Regions from separate parts of the Homo sapiens genome. Here regions 1, 2, 3, 5 and 6 are each linked to region 4. The links are contacts of gene promoters, found by promoter capture Hi-C in blood cells and fetal thymus (Javierre and others, 2016). All regions are on one chromosome and are shown on one strand. The core of a region is centred on a gene start or on the middle of the fragment in contact, and the rest is flanking DNA. Distances in the headings are between cores, read along the strand shown.

Region 1 (2,833 bases), core at 65-2,564, 360 kb before region 4:
CAGCTAAACTACCAATCAAGACTGAAAGTGAGCTGGGCACAGTGGCTCATGCCTATAATCCCAGCACTCTGAGAGGCCGAGGCGGGAGGATCACAAGGTCAGGGGATCGAGACCATCATGGCTAACACAATGAAACCCTGTCTCTACTAAAAATACAAAAAATTAGCCAGGCGTGGTTGCGGGCGCCTGTAGTCCCAGCTACTCGGGAGGCTGAGGCAGGAGAATGGTGTGAACCTGGGAGGCGGAGCTTGCAGTGAGCCGAGACTGTGCCACTGCACTCCAGCCTGGGCAACAGAGTGAGACTCCATCTCAAAAAAAAAAAAAAAACAAAAAACTGAAAGTGAAATAAAGATTTTTTAAATGAAGACAGTGTTTACCACTAACAGATTCCCACTGGACAAACATCTGAAGGATGTATGTATCTATGCAATAAAAAAGGAAGGAATAAAATGCAAGGAAAAATAGTGAAAAAGCAAACAGTAGACATACATGGGTAAAATGAAATAATCACTAACAATACAAAACAATAAACATATTTTAATTGTGTTGGGGTCTCACTCTGTTGCCCAGGCTAGCTAAGAACTCCTGGGCTCAAGCCATTCTCCCGCCTGCTCCTCCTGCCTCAGCCTCCAGAGTAGTTGGGATGACAGGGCAAGCCACCATGCCCAGCTACAAAATAATAATTATCAATTAGAATTGTTCAGCTTAGAGATGGATTGACTTTGGGAATGATCTCATTCTAGAAAGTACTCATTTTGAGTCTGGACAACACCTTTTGGTATGTTTAGTGTACACTGGGTAAGAGGCTAAATTAAATGACCACACCATATATTAGGTTAATGCAAAAGTAACTGTGGTTTTTGCCATTACTTTCAATGGCAATAACTGCAATTACTTTTGCACAAACCTAATATCTTCTGATCATAGTTTTATCAATTAGACACAGCTGTCCAAACAGCCCCTGATCAGCTCTGTTCAGCCACCTGAGCAGGGCTTTGCCCTCATCCTAAAAGTTCTAGAATTCAAGTCTTATTTCAAGGCATTCTTCCCACTTCCATGTTCCACATGTAAAAAAGAATTCTACGTTTCTTAACGAGCTTTCAGGTAAGATCTTTAAGCTTTTGGAATGTACCGCTTTTCGCTGTGAACTAAGAGCTTAGACATTACAATTAGTCATCCCTTGCTAGAACTTAGGCTACGAAAAGAATACTTTGGAAGCTTTCACAAAAAAGTATGTGGTTCTTCCTCTAAAGAAGAAAATACCACACAGAAAGAGGGACTGAGGAAACATAAACCCATCTGTGCTGACAGAAAGCTACCTTACATGATCCTCATGTTCGCCCCAGGTTCCCATATATTCACAGCAGTAAAGATCTCCACAAAGCAGAGAGGCCCAACTCCCTTACCATTAAAGCTTTAACGACCAGACAACCCAGAAGTTTGGAAACATAGAACCAGGCAACAGATACTAGAGAGAGGGAATTATGTATTAAAGCAAGAAAATATCATCACGTTTTCAAGAGGGAGTGCCATTCCAGTAAAGAGGACAGCTTAATACTGAGGTTCAAATGCCACTAAATGAAAACGGGAAAGCGAAATTCCTGTGCCCTTTCAGCCCAAGAAATTATTCCAAAGCATACATTTATTCCCATTACATGTCGCAAATCCTGCCTAGCCATTAGGATACAGTGACGAAAAAGTCTCTCGTTATCTAGAAGGGCAGACAAACACGCAGACTTTTAAAATACCAGATGGCAGGCCGGGCGTGATGGCTCACGCCTGTAATCCCAAGCACTTTGGGAAGCCGAGGCGGGCGGATCACGAGGTCAAGAGTTCAAGACCGGCCTGGCCAAGATGGTGAAACCCTGTGTCTACTAAAAATACAAAAGTTAGCCGGGTGTGGTAGCGGGCGCCTGTAATCCCAGCTACTCGGGAGGCTGAGGCAGGGAACTGTTTGAACCCGGGTGGCAGAGGTTGCAGTGAGCCGAGATCGCGCCACTGCACTCCGGCCTGGGCGATAGGGCGAGACTCCGTCTCAAAAAAAAAAAAAAATGACAAGTGCTAACTCAGAGGTAAGCAAAAGAGAGTACCCAGAGGCGGCAGCATCAACCCAGTGGGCTCCCGCCCACCCACAATCTTCACACAGTCACACCACTTATAGTCATAAATTTGTACTCTCCGAGGTGCGTGTATGAAACATGTTATCTGTGAGAGTCCATGGATGAAAAACAAAAACAAACAAAAATTAAAAAAAAAAAAAAAAAAGACTTAACCTGTTTTGACCAGGACAACCACCCCAGGAAGTAGGTAAGGCAGGTAAGGTCATTGTTTACATATATGAAAAGTGAGGCTCAAAATACACTGACCAGTCCAAGACAACGCGCGCCCCCACAAAGCACCTTCCCCGTCCCCATTTATGCCCAACCCATAAACCCAAAGTAGAGCCAACCTCGCACTGGCTACGTAACCCGGGCCAAGCTAAACATTATAAACCTCAGGCTCCCCATCTTTAAAGTATAACAGGTGGTTAGAAGATTAAAAAGATAAACATTTGGCAGGTCATTGTGGACGGTGTAGCTCAGAAAATGCTGACTACTGCACTACCATAACTACTGCTATTGTTAACGATAAAAGGCAAAGACTTTCCAGGACCCGACCCCTCGCTTACAAGCCTTTCGGGAACTTGCCCTATACCCCCGACCCCAGTCACCTTCAGATTTAATTCCACAGACACGCCCCCAAACAGACCCTCCCCTTTAAGGCACCCCCCCCCCCCCCGGCTCCTCCCTCTCAGGCGCCTCTCCTCACAAACCTTACCCCCATAGATTCTGCC
Region 2 (2,769 bases), core at 1-2,500, 320 kb before region 4:
CTGTTTGACCTTGGCTGAGTCACTTAACCTCTCTGAGCCTCAGTGTCTTCATCTGTAAAATGGGGATAATAACAATTATACCACTGTCAAAGTTATTCTGATAATTAAGTAAATAATGGATCAACAAAGCTGTTTGCAGGCTGTTCAAGGAGGGATGAGAATGGGAGTCAAGTGTAGGGATAGGAATCCAGAATGCAGACTGGCATTATGAAATTATACAAAATTAGAGGTAGCAGGGTTCTACTGAAACTATCCCTACCTCCTCCACACACTAAAACCTGCTTTTTGACCCTTTATGATGGCCCATACCACACCCACCCAGTGTCAGAAATTTAGGACACTAACGACCTCTCATGAATCACAGCCAAATGTCGGGGTGGAGGGATTGTAGCATATGCAAGCAGGGTTCAGTAAGACATTCTAGGAGGCATGAATAAGTGGATAAATAAGTAGATGGAAGATTGAATGGATGAACTAACATTATAAGGGTACAATCAGCTTTGAGCGGCTGAGGGAGCCGACCAGGAGTGCCAGATAATCTGAATTAAACTTAGGACAGGCGAACTGAGGCCCAGCGACAGGCAGAGACTGGCTTTAGGTCATACAGTGTGTCGGGGCTTAGAATTCCTCCGTGAAAGGGATGAGCAGGAGAAAATAATCGATGCCTGGTCCTGCTTTTGTCTTAATTTATCTGACCGACCCAGGGCCAGCCGCTGCCCTTCCCTGTATCTCAGATTCCCAACCCGCGTAATTAGGCACGACGGTAAACACCCTCATGTCCAAGAAGTACTGACAGACCAGCGATCTCGGCTCCGAAAGCCCAACCCACCGTCGCAAAGCCACCGCCCTTTCTTTGCTCATTACGATAATGACCATGCAGTTGACCAACAGAAAGAAAGCAGGGCGGGTCTCAGACAGAAATTTGGCCTTATAGGGTTGCTAAACGCGAAAAAAGCGGGGCCTGGGTAGGACCAATTAACTGAAAGAAATGCTGGGTGACAGGAAGTGACACCAATGAATGACGGACCTTGTGTGACGGGGTGGGGCTTAGTCTCGAGGAAGCGGCCAATGAGCTGGAGCTCTTTAAGGGTTAAGGACTCTCAATATGGAGCTCCTGGGGAGTCGGGTCAAAGGAAATGGGTTTCTCTGGGGGAAAAAGGAATGAAGGGGCAAGGAGACGGTTGCAGCCTTGCGTCTGTACTTACCGCGCCGGGAGGCTGCTGCCGGCGGCGACCCGGAAGCGCTTCACCCAGCCTGAGCGGAAGAACCCACCAGAATCCGGGACTCACCAAACGCATGCGTCCTTCGTCTCCTTTTGTTTTCCCCGCTCCCGCCCACTAAACCGGATGTGACGTTGACCTACCTTAGTCACATTGTTAGGGAAGGAAGTGTGCCGCGCCTACCTATCTGCCCCGCCTTGAGTCTCAGCCAGTCGGCGTCTCCATCCTGGCGCCAGCACTACGGTCTCGTTTAACCACTGCCCCGTTTAACCCCTGCCCTTTTGTTGCCAGTCACCATTTGCTTGTTAACCCCTTCTGAAGAAGAGCTGACAGCAACCTTTTAGTGCGAGGGCCATTCGTCCTGCTGCATCCCAGAAAACTAATCTGTTACTACTTCAGAATTGCTGGTTGATGTTAGGCCCCTCCTATCTGTGCTCTCTCAGCTACAGTTTCCCGTTTGAGCATATTCATTCTTTTTTATTTTTGCTCTGAACAAAAATATTAGAGTTACAATATTACTATATTCCAGGCCTTGCTAGAAACTGGGGATAAATCTAGGAATATGGTCGCTTCCCTGGAAGACCTCACAGTCCAGGGAAGCCAAACCCTGCAGACATGCAGTAGACTTAGTGGTCTCTCTTAAGGTTGCTTGTTGAGTTTTGACATTGGAGATTATGTACAGACTTGAATGACTAGTTAGCCTCAGGCACAGCATTCTGTTGCTGGGGGAATCAGCTGCCCTCCTCAGGCCTGGGCCAAGTACACTTAGAGATCGCCCTCGTCACCTCTCCCATCCTTTGCTGATGCCTCTGTTCTAGTAACCTCTGACTCAGCTTCGCCTTTAGAGATACTCATGCTTTCTGGCAACAGAGGTCCTTCAAACCCAATTCCTATTAAACTCCATCACTTACCAGCCTCTTTCAGGGACAGCAGTTATCCGCATTTCCAGTACTGTCCTGGCCAGATGTGTGAGTTTTGGCAATTCCTTTTCCTCTCTCTGGACTCAGCTTCTTTGTCAACCAGCATCATAATCTCTGCCCAGCCTTCCTTCTATCCTGGGCTGATGTGAAGATTGGATAAGAATTGTTCAAGAGGTCGTGTACTGTGCATATTGAATGTGATTATATTGCCAAATAGCACTGTTTGTTATAGTTTTTCATTAAAGAGTAAACTTTGCCTCTTGGAAATGACTACCTTTTTCATTCATTCAACAAATACCTACTGAGTGCCTTAGTATATGTCCATCACTATTCTTAGTAGTGGGTATACAATAGTAAACAAAACAGACCAAAAAAGTCCCTCTTTTCATGCAGCCTTCATTCTGAGAGAGGTAAACAATAAAGAAGATAGATAAATAAAATATGTAGTTGTAAGATTGCAGTAAATAAGAGAAAAAATAAATCTGAGAAGTGGGAATAAAATATTTGCAGGGGAGGTGTTTTATTTCAGACTGGGGGGCCAAAGTCACTGGGAAGGTGACTTTTGAGTAAAGGTCTGAAGGAGCAGAGAGCCTTCTGATATTTGTGGAAGAGCATTTCAGAGAGAGAGA
Region 3 (2,700 bases), core at 11-2,510, 440 kb before region 4:
TTTTTATGCTAAAAATCCTGGGAGGGGCCGGGCACAGTGGCTCACTTTGGGAGGCTGAGGCAGGCAGATTGCTTGAGCCCAGGAGTTCAAGACCAGCCTGAGCACCATAGTGAGACCCCATCTCTACAAAAAAATGAGACAAAAAAAAAAAAAACCTAGCCGGGCGTGGTGGCACATGCCTGTAGTCCCAGCTACTTTGGAGACCAAGGTGGGAAGTCACTTGAGCCTTGCAGTGAGCTTGTTCATGCCACCAAACTCCAGCCTGGGCAACAGAGCAAGACGTTGTCTCTAAATAAGTAAAAATTCACAAAATGTATAATAATCATGCAAAGGCACAACAATAAATGATGGGGCACAAAAGTGCTTAGTCCATATTGGTAATTGTTTTTGAACTGCACAGTGGTAGGAGTTGCTCCTTACAATTTTTACTTTGTGAACTCTTATTCCTTGATTTAACCCACAGCCGCTACAACAACAGCCACTGTCACTTACTGCTTTACCAAAAATTGGGGAAGCTTTCATACTTGCTTTGTTAATCTTTAACTGTATGTGTAAAGCTACACATTTCATTTCAACATTTAATATTAAAAGTGTTTTGAGTCTTTACTTAAGAGACAATTTGGTGTCTCTTAAATAGAGGTTTAGTGATGTCTTTGTGACAGAAATATGACACAGGAACTGAACTCTTGTTTCTATCAATTAGCCTGTGGTAAAATTGGTTTTGTTATATGTCGTTTCATTTAAAGTCACAGTTTCCAAGAAACTGTCAGTGAAGTGAGGACATACTGTATTTGAGAAGTATTTTGGACTTAGATATAGTTTGGTTCTGAAGACTGAAGGGAAAAATACAAAGGAAATATAGGTTTCAAAGCTGAGATTTCTGATTCGGCAACTGCTTGGATGGTAGTACCTTTCACTGAGATAGGAAATGCTGCAAGAGCAGCAGGTGGACATCACGGAGAGATGCTTAAATATGGGTAAATTAACAGCCAATCTGAGAAACGCAAGTAAATATTTCTATTTTTTTTTTCAGAATGGAAATATATCTTTATTGTTTTGCTGTTTATAAAAGTAGTATGTTCTCTTTGTAATTATTTAAACAACACAGAAGTGCTCCCTGTCTCAGTGTCATCCCCCAAGACCCCACCCCAAGAAGGAATATTTCCATCACCTTGGGTAACTTTAATCTAGTACCGTTTAAGGCCAGGGACTTTGTCCCTCAGTATCATGGGAATATTCTAATTTTTTCTCTACTGGATCAAATTGAAAACAGTACATTGGATCACTTTATTGACAGTTTATTAGGTTCCTTTTTGAACAACTGTCTTGTGCTTTACCTTCATTTCCCTCTTACCTATTTGTGTAGACATTGGATCTTCCTTTAACCAGTTTACTCCCCAGAAGAGATTTCTAGACCATGTCACCATTTTGACCATTTTGAAGTATACAATTCATGCATTAATTACATTTGCAGTGTTCTGCAACATTTTCACTGTCTAATTCCAAAATTTTTCTTCATCCCAAACAGAAACTCTGCCCATTAAGCAGTAACTCATTACCCCTTCCCACAGCCCTGGTTTACCTCTAATATACTTTCCATCTCTGTGAACATGCCTATTGTAGATATTTCATGTAAATGGAATCATACAATATTTGTCCCTTTGGCTTTTTTCACTTAGCGTAGTGTTTTCAGAGTTCATCCATGTATAGAATGTATCATTCCTTTATATGGCTGAATAGTATTCCATTGTGTGTGACACCGCATTTGGTTTATTCATTCATCTGTGGATAGGCACTTGAGTTGTTTCCACTTTTTGGCTACTGTGAGTAACGCTGTGAGCACTGGCGTTTAAGTGTGTTTAGTCCCTAGTTTCATATCTTTTGGGTTTATACCGAGAATGGAATTGCTTGGTCATTTGGTAATTTTATGTTTAACTTTTTGAGGACATGCCAAACTCTTTGCTTTCTTAATTATGATAATGCTTAAGTGAATATCTGTATTCATGAAGCTTCTTTGACACTTCCTCTTTTTTTTTTTTTTTTTGAGATGGAGTCTCGGTCTGTTGCCCAGGCTGGAGTGCAGTGGTGCGATCTCGGCTCACTGCAAGCTCTGCCTCCCGGGTTCACGCCATTCTCCTGCCTCAGCCTCCTGAGTAGCTGGGACTACAGGCGCCCCCCACCATGCCTGGCTAATTTTTTGTATTTTTAGTAGAGACGGGGTTTCACTGTGTTAGTTAGGATGCTCTCGATCTCCTGACCTCGTGATCCGCCCTCCTTGGCCTCCCAAAGTGCTGGGGTTACAGGCGTCAGCCACCGCGCCCAGCCTCCTCTTATTTCTTTAAATTCCTTGAAGTGAAATTAATGGGTCAAAAGGTGCAACAATTTGAGATACCATGCTAAATCCTATCTGAAAGGCTTGAACCCCTTTTGCTGCTGCCACAAATGTCTGAGAATGCCCTTGTCACCAAACCAACATGGCACTTAATATTTCACTGTTTTAAATGTTGGAGAATATTGTTGTCCATTTCTGGTGGAACCATAGTCTGGCGACAGAATGGCTTGCCTGACACAGCTTTTGATCACCAGCCCCAAGTCCTTCTCCCTCCCCTTCCCCTTATCCTTTGGTGCTGATCCAGCCCAGTTTATAGGTTCTGTTACATCTAACTTCCCAACTGTCTCTAGTCTGGTCACTTCTCCCCA
Region 4 (2,700 bases), core at 12-2,511:
AAGAAATTGGTCAGACGCGGTGGCTCACGCCTGTAATCCCAGTACTTTGGGAGGCCAAGGCGGGTGGATCAGGAGGTCAAGAGATCGAGACCATCCTGACCAACAACTAAAAATACAAAAATTAGCTGGGTGTGGTGGCCCGCACCTGTAGTCCCAGCTACTTGGGAGGCTAAGGCAGGAGAATAGCTTGAACCCGGGAGGCGGAGGTTGCAGTGGGCCGAGATTGCGCCACTGCACTCCAGCTTGGCGACAGAGCAAGACTCCATCTCAGAAATAAATAAATAAATAAATAAATAAATAAATAAATAAATAAATAAATAAATTGAGGTCAAGCTGGCATTAGAACCGAGTCAGGTTGTTCCTGACTCTGGCACCTTTGGTGGCGGGGGGTAGGGGGGAGCGGTTTGGCAACTTCTCTAAACCATCTGGCGGTTGCCCTTAAAACACCCCATAATTTCCGTTTCCTGGAGATCTCAGGAAAGAGGAATTGGACCAGGCAGAATATGAGAAACATAAGGGGACCATGCTATAATATTAGATGTTTAGTCCAATATCCCCATTGTACAGATGGATAAAATGATGCCCAGAGAGGGGAAGCGGATCTATGGTACGAGATTATACAACTCCGAGGTGATGAGGTCTCTAGGGCAACACCCTGCCCCTGTAACCAGATGATGTCTGAGTCCCTCCAAGACTTAGGCTCTAAGGATCTAAACCTATAAGTACCTCCCACCCTCCTAAGATACGAAGTTAGGACAATCTTCCCGCCTCTCCCTTCCTCAAACCCAGATCTCATAATCACCCTTGTTGGACGGACTCTTGCTGTAGCAATGAACCACCAGCGCTGCGGCCAGGGCGCACATGCCCAGTCCGGCCCTGCTGGGGACCCCGTTCCAGCTGTCCTGTCCTGGGAGTGTTTCTTCGGGACCAGGAAGGCGTCCCCAAGTGGCAGCCGCGAGGCATTTGGTATCGAAGCGTCCTCCCTGGCGCCCCCCGGTGGCTGCCCCACGTCCGGAGAACAAGGCCGGCGATGTTCCAGGGCGCCCCCCGGTGGCTACCCTCAGCCACTGCGGCTCCCCGAGACTCCCAGTAGTCACATTCCGGCCGGAAGCACCTCCATGGCCCCGGAGCGTTGGGGACCTGAGCAGCCGGAGGAGTAGCCGTGGCGCCAGTGCTTTTCTCCTCAACACCAGGGACCCCAGCATCTTGACAGCTGCTTCGATAACCCCGTGGTGCCGGCCCCTGTGCTGACCACGTCCAACATGGCTGCCGCGGCGCGTTCGAAGACGCCGCGAACAGGGTGGAGTTGCGCACTACCTCACGGGAGAGGTAGTCCACAGCCCTAAGCCTTTCCCCAGCTGGAGAATAAATAAACTACGTTTCCCAGAAGGCTGTGGGATTGCGTCACAATGACTGCGGGATTATAGAAGCCCGGGGCATATTGGGAAATAGAGTTCGGGTGAAGGGGCGTGGCGATTAGAGTTAAAGATTAGAATCCCAAGACTTCTTTCCTAGTTTAGTTGAAGCACACGACACACTTTTTTTTTTTTTTTTTTTTTGAGACGGAGTCTCGCTCTGTCTCACAGGCCGGAGTGCCGTGGCGCGATCTCGGCTCACTGCAACCTTCGTCTCCTGTGTTCAAGCAATTCTCCTACCTCAGTCTCCCGAGTAGCTGGGATTACAGGCGCCCGCCACCATGCCCAGCTAATTTTTGTATTTTTAGTGGAAACGGGGTTTCACCACGTTGGCCAGGCTGGTCTCTAACTCCTGACCTCAGGCGATCCGCCCGCCTCGGCCTCCCAAAATGCTGGGGTTACAAGCGTGAGCCACCGCGCCCGGCCCACAATTTTTGACTGGTGTAAATTACCCAAGAATCTTCAGCAGAGGCATATTATGAAACTTATGCTTATTTAGTTTAGCCTATCTCTTTTTTCAGCCTGGGCGGCCTTTCAAAAAGATGTTTAGGGTAACTACTGCACCTGAGATAGGAATACATTTTATTTGAAGAGTTGACTTCCGGTCTTTTTTTTTTTTTTTTTTTTGAGACAGAATCTCACTCTGCCGCCCAAACTGGAGTGCAGTGGCGCCATCTCGGCTCACTGCAACCTCCGTCTCCCTGGTCCAAGCGATTCTCCCACCTCAGCCTACCGAGTAGCTGGGATTACAGGCACGCACCACCACGCTTGGCTAATTTTTGTATTTTTAGTAGTAGAGACGGGGTTTCACCATGTTGGCCAGGCTGGTCTCCAACTCCTGACCTCAAGCGACCCACCTGCCTCAGCCTCCCTAAGTACTGGGATTACTGGCGTGAGCCACTGCGCCTGGCCCTGATTGTGTTATTTTTAAAGGGCTTTCAAGTGGGTCATCTCATCTGATCCTCATGGCAGCTGTGTGTGAGAAGCTGGGCAAGAACTGTTATTCCCGTCTACAGTGAAGGGAATTGAGGCTCAAAGGTGAAAAGATTTGCCAGTAAATCACCTGGAGTAAAGTAATGCTCAGGTCTTCTGATTTTGAGCATATAGTTTCCATTAACACCTGCACTCCCATCCCGCCCCCTCTTTTCCAAACTGAACCCATAGGTAGGCAAAGGAGGAAGTTCTTCTTTGTGCCAGTTCTGTTTCTTCCAAGTCTTGTACGTCTGCTCAGACTTCACATGATCAGAGTCTTCCCTGACCATTCTGGTTAAAATAGTAATCCTAC
Region 5 (2,700 bases), core at 185-2,684, 460 kb before region 4:
TTTGAGGTTGCAGTGAGCTGAGATCATGGCACTTGACTACATTGTGGGTAACAGATGAAACCCTGTCTCAAAATAAATAAGTAAATGAACTTTTTTAAAAATAAAAATATAAGCAAGTAAGAAAGATTCGATAAATTTGATTTTATAAATTAAGGATTTCTGTTCTGTTAAAGATATGATAGGCAGAGTTAACTGAAACTGAATGGAGAATAGATGAGTAATGATTAAAACTGACAGTAGATTAATATTTATCCAGAGAAACTCCTACAAATCAACAAAAGACAGCAACTCCAATAGAAAAACAGGCCAGAGATATGAACACATTTACAGGAAAGGAAACCCAAAAGGCCATTAAGCATGAAAAGAGATGCTCAGAGTCATTAGTAATTAGAGAAATGCACATAAAAATATGAGATATCACTTTACATCTATTAGGTTGGCAAAAGCTAGAAAGCTGAATAGTGCCAAGTGTTGGCAAGGATCAAAGGCTGTAGGAGCTTTCTTGTACTTTTTTGTGGGTATGGTACAGGCATTGTGGATAGCAGCATGGCATTGCTGAGTCAGCGAATATACACATACCCTGTGACACATCCTAAGGGGATATGTAAGAGGGTGTTCACTGAAGTGTTAATTATGGCTGAACATTGAGGAGTTGGAGGCAATCTGGATATCTATCTCTGAGGGAGTAAATAGGTAAAATGTGACGGATGCATATCATGAAATTGTTTTACAGTTAAAAGCAATACATTAAGTACCTGTAGGAACTTGGGAGGACCTTAAAAGCATAGTACTGAGTGGAAAAACTAAGAAACAGAAAGATGTGTAACACAATGCCAATTAATAAAAATACAAGCAGAGAAAGCAATAAACAGTTTGCATGAACAGGTACAAACAAAAATATACATGTGAAGCACATTAGAATGTCTGGGGTGAGGAATAGTAATAAAAGAGAATCAGGAAGACTCCCCGGAGAATGTTGTGTAAAGGAAAGGCACTGGGATTGTTGTTGAGTAGTAGAAACATGAACTGTTTGAGATTAGCCATTAGAGCTTTTAAAAAAATGCCTCTTATGGCATTCCAAGAAATGATGGAATTATTTGATAAGGCTCTGTTTCTTTCAAACTGAATGAAACTTTTTGTCCTTCACTAGTGCAGGTTGGTGGCGCAGCCTTTTAGTGGGCATCCAATGACCACTGAGTGGAAAAACACTAGCTCTGTTCTCCTAGACCAAGGTTTCTCAACAGAGGAACTGTTGGCATTTTGGGCCATATAATTCTTTTTTTCTCGGGGGCTGTCCTGTATATTATAGGATGTTTAATAGCATCCCTACCCTCTGTCCACTAGATGATACTGGCACCCTTCTGCACTTGTAACAACCAGATGTCTCCAGACTGCCAAATGTCCCCTGGGAAACAAAATCATCCCTGATGAGAAACACTGTCCTAGGCTCTAGGACCTAGAGCAACATGGATATTGCAAGCTATGAGACTGATGATGAGCAGTATGCCAGCCCACTGAGAAGTATCACATTACTGTCCATAACTTAGGAGCTCAAGCCCAACCTTCACATTAAGAGAAACATAGGCTGGGCGGCTGGGTGCGGTGGCTCATGCCTATAATCCCAGCACTTTGGGAGGCCGAGGCAGGCGGATCACGTGAGGTCAGGAGTTGGAGACCATCCTGACCAACATGGAGAAACCTTGTCTCTACTAAAAATACACTGTTAGCCGGACATGGTGGTGCATGCCTGTAATCCCAGCTACTCGGAAGGCTGAGGCAGGAGAATCGCTTGAATCCAAGAGGCGGAGGTTGTGGTGAGCCGAGACTGTGCCTTTGCACTCCAGCCTAGGCAACAAGAGTGAAACTCCATCTCAAAAAAAAAAAAGAGGGAAATGTAGGCTGGGCATAGTGGCTCATGCCTGTAATTCCAGCATTTTGGGAGACTGGAGTGGAAGGATAGCTTGAGCCCAGGAGTTTGAGACCAGCCTGGGCAACGTAGTAAGACCCAATCTCTTAAAAAAGAAAAAATTAGCTGGTTGTAGTAGCATAGGCCTGTAGTCCCAGCTACTTAGGAGGTTGAGATGGGAGGATCACTTGAGCCTGGGAGGTTGAGGCTGCAGTGGGCTGTGATTGTGCCACTGCACTCCAGCCTGGGCAACAGAGTGAGACCCTGTCTCAAAAACAAAAAACAGGCCGGGCGCGGTGGCTCATGCCTGTAATCCCAGCACTTTGGGAGGCCGAGGCGGGCAGATCACCTGAGGTTGGGAGTTCAAGACCAGCCTGACCAACATGGTAAAACCCCGTCTCTACTAATAATACAAAAATTAGCCGGATGTGGTGGCAGGTGCCTGTAATCCCAGCTACTGTGGAGGCTGAGGCAGGAGTATTGCCTGAACCCGGGCAGTGGAGGTTGCAGTGAGTCAAGATCCTGCCACTGCACTCTAGCCTGGGTGACAAGAGTGAAACTCTGTCTCAAAAAACAAAAAAACAAACCAAAAAAACCCCAAAAAACAAAAGCCCTACTGACAAGGAAGAGGCCAAAGAAATAAATTTAAAAGAAGAAATATAAAATTTAAAACAGAAAATTTTGAAAAATACAAAAAACAAAAGCCCTGTATTTTTTTGTTTGTTTGTTTGTTTGTTTTTGAGACGGAGTCTTGCTCTTTCACCCAGGCCAGACTGCAGTGGCGCTATCTCGGC
Region 6 (2,700 bases), core at 108-2,607, 300 kb before region 4:
AGAATTTGGGCAAGACTCATGATTGGCCCATCTTGGCCGGGCGTGGTGGCTCACCCCTGTAGTCCCAGTATTTTGGGAGGCCTAGGTTGGAGGATTGTTTGAGCCCAAGAGTTGAAGACCAGCCTGGGCAACATGGCGAAACCTCCTCTCTACAAAAATACAAAAATTAGCTGGGCGTGGTGGTGCGTGCCTGTAGTCCCAGATACTCAGGGAGGTTGAGGCTGCAGTGAGCCATGATGGTGCCACTGCACTCCAGCTGGGGTGACAGAGTGAGACCCTGTCTCCTAAAAATAAAAAATAAGGTAAAATAAAGATTGGCCCATCTACCCTCAACAGTTGCCTGGACTCCCTGGGGCTCAGTGCACCTAGATGCTGGACTCGGATAACCATCTGATCTTTGATGTAGTGGACAGACACTTTGTTCTTGCCATCATCTTTGGTACCTGAGATAGAAAGCCTTAAAGAGAGGCCACGCCCATGATTAAGTTTCAGGTCAAAACAACGAGCAAAAAGGCAACGGCTATAGTTGTAGGTGTAGCAAATCAGTGTGCCTTTTATCTAGAGGCTACTGAAAACCAGACATTCATTAAAGATATTCTGGTCACTTGGATGAAGGCTGGCCTTGGCATTCACCTGAATCTTTAGTAGAGTCTTTAGCACCATTGGCAACTCAGCCAGACCTGGCCTTGGCCACGATAGTGGAGCCTGGGATTGGAGGGCATGAATTTTATGAAGCCTGTAATATCAGAAATTCGTTGGTTGAGGACATACCTCTTTCTTTTTGGACCCTGTGGGCGTAATGCTATTGATACATGTGCAGAGGAGGAATTAATATGACTGTGATTGACAGAATAATTATGAAGTGCAAAGACCTCAGATCTGTGATCAGCTTCCATAGAAGTATTTGCTCAGAAGCTTCTCAGAAACATTCTCATGATTGAAGAAGCCTTGAAGAGCCCGTATTTCTGTCTATGAAATCTCCTGTTTATTGTACTATGAGGACCCATCAGAAAGTAACTGAGGTAGTGCTGATTTCCTGAGCAATTATTCAGTCCACTGTCTCAAATCCATCATGCAGAATGTTCACAGAGGGTAAAGTAAGTTTGACTATTATAACTACTCACTTTTATAAGTGATTTAATTTAAAGATTAATATGATAAGTACTCTGTTTTTCCTGGGAATTTTGTTGTAGAAAGAGTAACTGCTGTGTGGCTAAACTAAGGTTATAAGCCAAATTGTTTCCTCAGAGTTTAAGAAACACAATACTAACTCTCATGGGTTTACTAGTTGTCTGTTGCTGCATAACAAATCATTCCATAATTTTGTGGTGTATTGCTGCAGACAATGTTAAACTAAGTGGATGAAAAGGATATTCACATAGTCTCAGAGTGTCTCCCTACAAGGTAGGATTACTAACAAAGGGAAACTAATAATTATATAGTAAGGAAATCTCCTTAACCCAATAATCACCAGCAATAAGATGCAGCAACCCTCATCATGTACCTCTTGATATGATGCACTGACAAAAGCACCTCTCTTCTCTAATTTTCTTGCCAAAATGCATAAGCTCAAGCTAATTACAGGAAAATATAGACAAACCCAAATTGAGGGACATTCTGCAAAATAACTGAACAGTAATTCTCCAAAAGTGTCAAGGTCATAAAAGACAAAGACATTGAGGAACTGTCACAGATTGGAGGGAGACTAAGGGGACATGACAACTACATGCAACCTGGAATCATGGACTGAATCCTGGGCCAGAGAAAGGACATTGGGGGGGAAACTGGTGTAAAGGGCATAAAGCTTGTAGATTAGTTAACAGTATTGCCTCAATATTAATTTCCTGATTTTTTTAAGAACTGGGCTTTGGTTACATAAGATGCCAATATTTGGGGAAGTTGCATAAAAACATACGGGAAATCTTTTGACGATGTTTTGCAGTTTTTCTGCAAATCTAAAATTATTTCAAAACAAAAAGTTTAAAAATCAAATACACATAGTTGCTTGAAATAGTAACTATTTTATTATATTCCAAGATGTTGTGAGTCAGGAATTTGGCCAAAACTCAGGTGGGCGATTCTTCTGCAAAGACCCCCACAACACATTCAAAGTCACAGGCAGAGGTTGTTGGGGGAGGGCATTGAAAAGAAGAGAAGAGTCATAGGTGGGTGCAATGGAGGGAGGGCAGAGGGCTGCTGACTATGGTGCAGGACTCATCCATAATGGAGCCCTGGGGAGGCAAGGGCTTCATAACTAGACACTGGTCTTGTCACCTCAGACTCACCTGTAGCAGGACCAGATACTGAGGTCAGACTGAAAACACAGGCTCTGCCTCAGGAGAGGCTCTCTACTAGCTGAGTAAATGATGACAGTATTGGAAATGTTCCCAACATCATAATGGGAAAACATCACTTCACACTACATAAGCAATACACAGGGGCAGTGCCGGTCGTCTTCCCAGGTTAGTAGCAGTTCTACTGCCTCCAAGAGTGTTGGAGAAATACAAACCAAGCATTAGGCACTTTTAACTTGAAAACATGAAGTTCTCTTTCCTAACTTTCTTTGTTTCCTTATTTCTTCTTCTTCTTCTTCTCCTTCTTCTTCTTCTTCTTCTTCTTCTTCTTCTTCTTCTTCTTCTTCTTCCTCTTCTTCTTCTTCTTCTTCTTTCTTCTTCTTCTCCTTCTCCTTTTCCTTCTTCT

The links. Contacts are between HindIII fragments. The CHiCAGO score rates a contact against its expected background, and 5 or more counts as called.
Region 1: a contact is called between a fragment that was not itself captured here and the fragment with the promoter of CLPB in region 4, in 1 of 17 cell types (fetal thymus). The highest score is 6.2, in fetal thymus.
Region 2: the fragment with the promoter of ANAPC15 here is called in contact with the fragment with the promoter of CLPB in region 4 in 1 of 17 cell types (M0 macrophages); the score reaches 5.1 in M0 macrophages.
Region 3: a contact is called between a fragment that was not itself captured here and the fragment with the promoter of CLPB in region 4, in 3 of 17 cell types (M0 macrophages, M1 macrophages and M2 macrophages). The highest score is 8.0, in M0 macrophages.
Region 5: a fragment that was not itself captured here is called in contact with the fragment with the promoter of CLPB in region 4 in 2 of 17 cell types (fetal thymus and naive CD8 T cells); the score reaches 6.3 in fetal thymus.
Region 6: a fragment that was not itself captured here is called in contact with the fragment with the promoter of CLPB in region 4 in 1 of 17 cell types (M1 macrophages); the score reaches 6.2 in M1 macrophages.

Annotation. Positions count from the first base shown.
Region 1 is chr11:72,077,503-72,080,335 of GRCh38, forward strand. The region is part of intron 1 of NUMA1 (nuclear mitotic apparatus protein 1); the gene reads right to left. Among named protein-coding and RNA genes, the nearest start is that of NUMA1, 1.6 kb to the right of the region's middle. RefSeq lists an enhancer at 2,451-2,833. The HindIII fragment of the contact is 196 bases long and covers 1,217-1,412 here.
Region 2 is chr11:72,111,445-72,114,213 of GRCh38, forward strand. ANAPC15 (anaphase promoting complex subunit 15) reads right to left here and starts at 1,251. Exons shown (of 6, transcript NM_014042.3): 1 at 1,206-1,251; 2 at 1-52. RefSeq lists enhancers at 521-1,058, 730-899, 1,059-1,596, 1,070-1,129, 1,230-1,289 and 1 more and a silencer at 1,260-1,477. The HindIII fragment of the contact is 5,139 bases long and covers 1-2,769 here.
Region 3 is chr11:71,991,815-71,994,514 of GRCh38, forward strand. All of the region lies in intron 6 of RNF121 (ring finger protein 121), which reads left to right. Among named protein-coding and RNA genes, the nearest start is that of IL18BP, 5.7 kb to the right of the region's middle. The HindIII fragment of the contact is 1,494 bases long and covers 514-2,007 here.
Region 4 is chr11:72,433,270-72,435,969 of GRCh38, forward strand. CLPB (ClpB family mitochondrial disaggregase) reads right to left here and starts at 1,262. Exons shown (of 16, transcript NM_001258392.3): 1 at 803-1,262. The coding sequence starts at 1,205. RefSeq lists enhancers at 884-1,343, 1,407-2,213. The HindIII fragment of the contact is 13,854 bases long and covers 1-2,700 here.
Region 5 is chr11:71,971,314-71,974,013 of GRCh38, forward strand. The region is part of intron 3 of RNF121 (ring finger protein 121); the gene reads left to right. Among named protein-coding and RNA genes, the nearest start is that of IL18BP, 26 kb to the right of the region's middle. The HindIII fragment of the contact is 4,567 bases long and covers 1-2,700 here.
Region 6 is chr11:72,130,972-72,133,671 of GRCh38, forward strand. It overlaps the pseudogene RPEP6. Among named protein-coding and RNA genes, the nearest start is that of FOLR3, 3.4 kb to the right of the region's middle. The HindIII fragment of the contact is 889 bases long and covers 914-1,802 here.